Regions from separate parts of the Homo sapiens genome. Here region 2 is linked to region 1. The links are contacts of gene promoters, found by promoter capture Hi-C in human tissues and cell types (Jung and others, 2019). All regions are on one chromosome and are shown on one strand. The core of a region is centred on a gene start or on the middle of the fragment in contact, and the rest is flanking DNA. Distances in the headings are between cores, read along the strand shown. Region 1 holds the start of PFN4 (profilin family member 4). Region 2 overlaps ITSN2 (intersectin 2).

Region 1 (3,365 bases), core at 565-3,064:
ACCTCAGCCTCCCAACGTGCTGGGATTACAGGCATGAGGCACAGTGCCAGACACACACTTTAAATATATGCAGTTTACTGTATATCAATTACATCTTAATAAAGCTGTTTAGAAAAAAGAAACTACAATCTAAAAACAATATAACTGGCTGGGCGCAAGGGCTCACAGCTATAATCCCAGCATTTTGGAACACCACGGTAGGTGGATTGCTTGAGCTCAGGAGTTGGGGACCAGCCTAGGCGACACAGTGTAGAGATTTTTTGTATCTCTACAGAAAATACAAAAATTAGCCAGACATGGTGGCGTGCGCCTATACTTCCAGCTACTAGGGAGTGGAAGGATGGCTTGATTCCAGGAGGAAACATAGCAAGACCCTGTCTCAAATATAAATAAATAAATAAATACATCATATCAAAATTTGGGTGATGCAGCTAAGGCAGTACCTCAAGAGAAACTTATAGCTATGTTACATTTTAAAAGGTATATAATCAATGACCTATGATTCCACCTTAAGATGTTAGAAAAAAACAGCAAAGTGAATATACAAAGTTAGTAAAGTGAAGGGAATAATAAACAGAATGAAATAAAAACAAACAATAGAAAAAACAATATATTTAGCACAAGCCACTTCCTACTGCAACGATCCAAGTAAAAAAATCTCCAAATCCCACACTATTTGATATATACCTCCATAAAACAAAGGGGCTTGGGCTCCAACCATTCTTTTGAGCTCTTGAGCTTGGGAAGTGTGCCAGTTACCAGATCATCACTGTCTACATTTTTCATTGTGGTCACAAATAACAATGCCCCTGGAAAAACTAAAAATCATCTTATTTAGTATTGAACATTTCACAGTCATCTGATTTTCTCTTCTGTTTAATACCACCTGTGTCCTTGCACACACGCAAAATGGATTTTGAACACTAACCATCCAGTTTCCCTAACAAGAGGCCTTCACTACAGACTCCAGATGACGGCTTCAGAGCCAGCCTCCTTTATAAGCAGGCGAGATGCTCTTTGAAAGAATCCCCCGTCCCTTGGAATGGATTCCCACGTCCCCCTCCAAGGCAGCCCATTCCAGCCAGTGTGGCAGCTTCAGCCTGGCCTCTCGGAGTCCCATTTGCAACACTTTTCTGACTTTGGTGGCCTCGAGTGGGAAGAACTGCAACTTTCTGGCCACAGAAACACAGGCTGAGCTGCTTAGAGAAGGCAGGGAGGGGCTTTCGGTCATACTGCGCGAGTCTTCGAGCTCTGAGCGGCTCGAAGTCCTCCCCGAGGCACGGGTGCGACGGGGATGTCGTAGGCGTCCGCACCCGCTCTCGCTCATCGCGCCCACTCCCGGCCCTTCCTCCCACCCACTAGGCCGGGCGCCTGCGGCCTCCACGCCAGCCCCGGGCCGGGGGCCTCCCGCGCAGGCGCGTCGTGCGCGGGGACCGCCCGGCCTGGCGGGGAGGTCGCCGGCCGCGACAGGCACCTCTCTGCCCTCCCAAGGCCAGCAGGCCCGCGGCCGTCCTGCTACACACTCGGGCCCGGCCCGACGACCCCGGAGCCGTCCGACTGCGGCTGGAAGGGAGCCCGCCCGCGTCTGCGGAACGCGCGAATGTTGGCGCCCACCGTCTCCCGGACGCAGCGCCGCGCGAGCACTCCGCCCCCTGCGCCGCGGGTTCCACAGCGAGTCCGCGCGGGCGGTGCCGGGGCGGCGGAGGACGGCTTCAGGCCCAAAGGGGATTGGGCGGCGGCTCTAGGTGGCGGGTCTTGGTTTGCGGAAGGGGCTGGAGTCGCTGCTTCTCGGTGACCGGCGCGTGGCCCGGCCAATCCTGCCGCCGCCACCCACCCGCAACCGCGTCCGTTGACGGTCGGGTCCTTGGTCGCCGGGTCCTTGCGGGCACCACAGAGCGGGGTGGCGTCCGCTCCCTCGAGTCCTCGGTGCCAGGGAATTCACCGCTCACCACCCCCTGCCCCGCCTTGGGTCCTGCTCGGGGACCAAACCACTGGAAGGCAGTGGCGGGAAACGGGCGCCTGTGCCGGAGGTCCTGATGAGGGGGGTCCAAGGCTTGGGGACTTGTGCGGGAAATGTGGGTTTAAGTGCCTTCAAGGTGTTTTTAGTCCATTGGGATGTTGATCAGCGTTCATAGCTGGCGCTGATGCAGGTCACCGGGAAGGGAATGTGTGGGTTTATGGCCACGCATAATCTCTTTTAGTCGTGTTTAACTTAGCAGGGTAGCTCTCCATCCTGGCTGGGTTTTGTTTTTTGTTTTTATTTTTTATTTTACAGAGTTTTTCTCAGTGTGTAATGTTTGTTTTTAAATCGCAGATAATCCTGATGTAAACCATTGACATAGCCAGAAAATCACCAGGCTGTGATTTTCCAAACTCAGCTTCATAACCTATTCTGTGTGAGCTGTGATTTTTCTATGATTCTGTTTTCCTCTTTGGGTACTGGTGGGCCCTGAATGATGGACCACCGTTTTCACCCTGTACCTTTTCAAAGTACACTTGCTGATCTTAGAACTGTCTGCAGTGTCTTAAGGACATTTGTATTCACATGCCTTTTAAAAGCTAGCCAGAGTCAATGGCTTCAACTGCACTTTCCCTTTCAGAGTTGAGGGAACATGAGCCATTTGCAGAGCTTATTGTTAGACACCCTCTTGGGAACCAAGCATGTGGACAGTGCAGCCCTCATCAAAATCCAGGAGCGGAGCTTGTGTGTAGCATCACCAGGTTTCAATGTAAGAAAAAACAAGTTTGGACCTAAGACTTGATTTACTTATTATTTCTATTCTTCCAAAAAATGAAGCAGACATGACTTTTTTTTTTTTTTGAGACGGAATTTCACTCTTGTTGCTTAGCCTGGGATGCAATGGCATGATCTCAGCTCACTGCAACCTCCGCCTCTCAAGCGATTCTTGAGCCTTAGCCTCCCGAGTAGCTGGGATTACAGGAGTGCGCTACCAGGCCCGGCTAATTTTTGTATTTTTAGTAGAGATGGTGTTTTACCATGTTGGTCAGGCTAGTCTCAAACTCCTAACCTCAGGTGATCCACCTGCCTCGGCCTCCCAAAGTGCTGGGATTACAGGCATGAGCCACCGTGCCCAGCCCAGACATGACTTTTAAATGAACTTTTTCTGTAAAGAGCTACATAAATATTTTAGGTTTCTAGGCTTAGTCTTTTTACTGTTGATATAAAGGAATACCTGAAGCTGGGTAATTTATAAAGAAAAGAGGTTTATTTGGCTCACAGTTCTACTGCCTGGAAGACTGGTCATCTGTGAAAGCCTCAGGCTGCTTCCACTCATGGCAGAGGTGAAGGGGAGCCAGCATGTGCAGAGATCACAGTGGGGGAGAGGAAGCAAGAGAGAGCAAGT
Region 2 (3,365 bases), core at 467-2,966, 160 kb before region 1:
GTAGTTATATAAATTATGCAGTAGCCATAATGTAAACTACTATGGAGCAATTTAAAAGAATGAACTAGATCTGTTTGTCCTGATTGATAAGATATCTTACTAAATTGAAAACAAGTTGCATAGCAATGTAGACAATATGATTCTGTTAAAACCCATGGAAATAAAAGTTGAGTATGTACACATCTAAATGTAAATGCCTAAAAGGGGGATGAACTTGCAGTTGAAATGGAGGTGTTTTAATTTTTTACTCTGTATGTTTCATTTTATTTAAATTTTGTACTTCTGTACTTCAAAAATATGATAAAGTTAAAAACAGACATTTAAACAGATAATATTGCTATTTTAATTTATTGTAATGTATTCTGCATTATATATTTCCATCTGGTTTCTTCATCCCTGCATGAATATGTAAAAAAAGATAATATAAAATGAAACCTTCTGTTCTTACCTCCTAAAATAATGTTACTAAATAATCCAGTTAGTAATACTTACTGAATCTTTGCTGTGAATATTTCCCTGTTCTTGGGAGCACTAAGAATAAATGGAAAGCTACTTTAACTATAGTTTCTATTAATTGAGTATTAACTGTGGACCAGAGTGTACAATGGCTTTATATCCATCACCTCATTTAATGTAGCATGATGCTCATTGTATAGATGAAAAGCCTGAGGATTCGATTGGTGAAGCATCTTTCCTAAAGTAGAATTTCACTTCAGGTCCTAGTCCTTTTGAATGCAGAACCAAGGCTTACAACCATTTCCTCTGATGCTCTTTCCAGCATATAATCTGGGAAGTGGAAATAACAACTGAATGTTTTCTCTTGTACTGGTCTGCATTGTGTATACATCCTTCGTATTGGTCTAGTTACATCAATCTGACCAAACAGTAAATGACATGCTGGTAATGACATACGAACTTCTGCAAAATGTAAACTGTCTGATGTTTGTTTTTCAGATTCAGGGGTCAGTTTACTTCATAAAAAATCATTAGAAAAGGAAGAATTATGCCAAAGACTTAAAGAACAGTTAGATGCTCTTGAAAAAGAAACTGCATCTAAGCTGTCAGAAATGGATTCTTTTAACAATCAACTAAAGGTATTTATTTTTGATACTATTTATTTTTAGGTAACTGCCTTCTTACCTTCATTATTTTGATTTAATAGAATAAATAGCTAAAGCTATTATATGTATTACATTTTCATAATTTATTTTATAATTTCAACTATACAAGAATTTCAAGATTGTTTTTAATGTTCTAGTTATATGACATAGTGTCATATAACTAAACATATACTTTATCACAGTTTCCAATTTTTGATGACTATGTGCTGTTTGTCTTGGCATCTATACATTTCCAGAACAATTGCCTTTGTCAGTATTACAGAACTGATCTCAGCCAGCGTTATCCTAGGCAATTTTCAAAAATGAGAAATATGGAAAATTTGAAATAGTTTAGGTGTTAGTGGCTCTTTTAACACAGTTTTTATTTTGTTTCCTTGTGAAGTGTAATTTAATTAACCTTTGTTAAATAATGCAATAATCAGTGAAATCTAGAACAGAATCTGGCACTATAAACTTTGCACAAAAAGCAAGTTAATGATTCATTGTTTGCCGCAGTGGCAGAGCAGATGTCCAAAACATAGACTGTCTGCATATCATTCACCACAGTATTCATTGTACACTGAAGCCATACCTATGAAAGAAACTAAAAACCCAGGCTCATGGCATAGAATGTAAATTTGGGAATAGTCTCAGTTATTCCTTTGCTAACAATATAAAGTTTCCAGAGCATAAGCTATTCTCTGTAAGAAATAAAGCTTTTCATAAAGCTTTTGTATAAGAAATCTCTCTCTTCATATGGCTTTTATCATGCTGACTTATTTAGAATAACATTAACAGCAAATATAGAGTAAACAGCATGCTAAAGAAAGGACAACATGGTGGCTTCAGGTAAGGAAAGGGAATTTGAGGTGAACAATGTTAATAATACACTTTACACAAGCATATGTTCAGTAGAAAAAAATTTTATAGAAAACCAAATCATTTGTCATTGCTGGTTAGACAAGCCAGCCAACTTATCTTCCCTATATTATTTCTTTAAAAAATCTACATAACTGGGCATGGTGGCTCATGCCTGTAATCCCAGCACTTTGAGAGGCTGAGGCGGGCGGATCACGAGGTCAAGAGATCGAGACCAGCCTGGGCAACATGGTGAAACCCCATCTCTACTAAAAATACAAAAATTAGCTGGGCGTAGTGGCATGCGCCTGTAGTCCCAGCTACTCGGGAGGCTGAGGCAGGAGAATCGCTTGAACCCGGGAGGTGGAGGTTGCAGTGAGCTGAGATTGCGCCACTGCAGTCCAGCCTGGCGACAGAGTGAGACTCCATCTCAAAAAAAAAAAAAAAAAAAAAAAAAAATTCTGTACGTAGTTTAATTGGCTTTTTATCTGCCTTATCTTACAGTGTGGGAATATGGATGACTCTGTTCTTCAGTGCCTTTTGTCTCTGCTAAGCTGTCTCAACAACCTCTTCCTCTTACTTAAGGTTATTTTCTAATATCTAGCTTCTTTTCTTTGAGTTACTTTGCTGTTTTATTTTTTTAAAACTAGACTATTCTTTGCCTTTATCTGAGTATCTTTGTTTGAAATAACATATACAATATAAGCCTTTTTCTTTCTGCTTGCTTGAATATCCTTCTGCTATCTGACTGCCTGTTTGAGTCTAATGCCAGAAGTCAGTAAGGTTGCCTGTCACAGTAACCTTTCTCAAAAGAAGTCCAGGACACTTAGAAATATAACCTGGTTCCTTTACAACATCCCTGGGAGTGGGTTAACTGATAAAGATGATTACTAACTCAATTCAAAGGAAAATGTGAGATTAAATCACTTACCCATATCACTGAAAATCAGTGTTTAAAATAAAACTTAATACTTTATGAAATCTAGGGCAAGTTTATGTCATATATGCACCAAGCTGCTTCCTAATACTGTTGTAAGGACAATTTTAAAGAACCAATAATGCAGGGGCAACTTTAGTCAGGTCTAGTTACCAGGCTCATATTTAGACATGCTTGCACATCAGATAAAAATGTTTAAATTATATAAATATTTCTCTTTGCCATGTATAACGTAGATTATTAAAAATATTTTAATAGAGCTTAAAGAAATGTGCTTTATGTTTACTGCTTGCTGACTCTAGTAGATTTTGACTACACATTTTACTCAGTACTAAAATGGATAGCAATAGGGCAGTTGCCTATATGCATATATATTCCACAGTGAAGACAGAAACATGATAAGTAGAGTTCATTTGTTACCTGAGCGAAGTAGGGCAAATTGGAAAGATGGTAGCAGCAGGGGACCCATA

The links. Contacts are between HindIII fragments. The study calls those that stand out against the background at their distance.
Region 2: a fragment that was not itself captured here is called in contact with the fragment with the promoter of PFN4 in region 1 in 1 of the 25 tissues and cell types used here (H1 embryonic stem cells).

The regions. Positions count from the first base shown.
Region 1 is chr2:24,121,783-24,125,147 of GRCh38, reverse strand. PFN4 (profilin family member 4) reads left to right here and starts at 1,814. Exons shown (of 5, transcript NM_199346.3): 1 at 1,814-2,030; 2 at 2,601-2,729. The coding sequence starts at 2,613. It overlaps FAM228B (family with sequence similarity 228 member B), which reads right to left and starts at 1,679. Exons shown (of 11, transcript NM_001145710.2): 1 at 1,615-1,679; 2 at 688-818. The coding sequence starts at 786. RefSeq lists an enhancer at 928-1,177 and a silencer at 1,248-1,747. The HindIII fragment of the contact is 15,112 bases long and covers 1-3,365 here.
Region 2 is chr2:24,283,941-24,287,305 of GRCh38, reverse strand. It overlaps ITSN2 (intersectin 2), which reads left to right. Exons shown (of 40, transcript NM_006277.3): 16 at 955-1,094; 17 at 2,463-2,543. Among named protein-coding and RNA genes, the nearest start is that of ITSN2, 75 kb to the left of the region's middle. The HindIII fragment of the contact is 4,001 bases long and covers 1-3,365 here.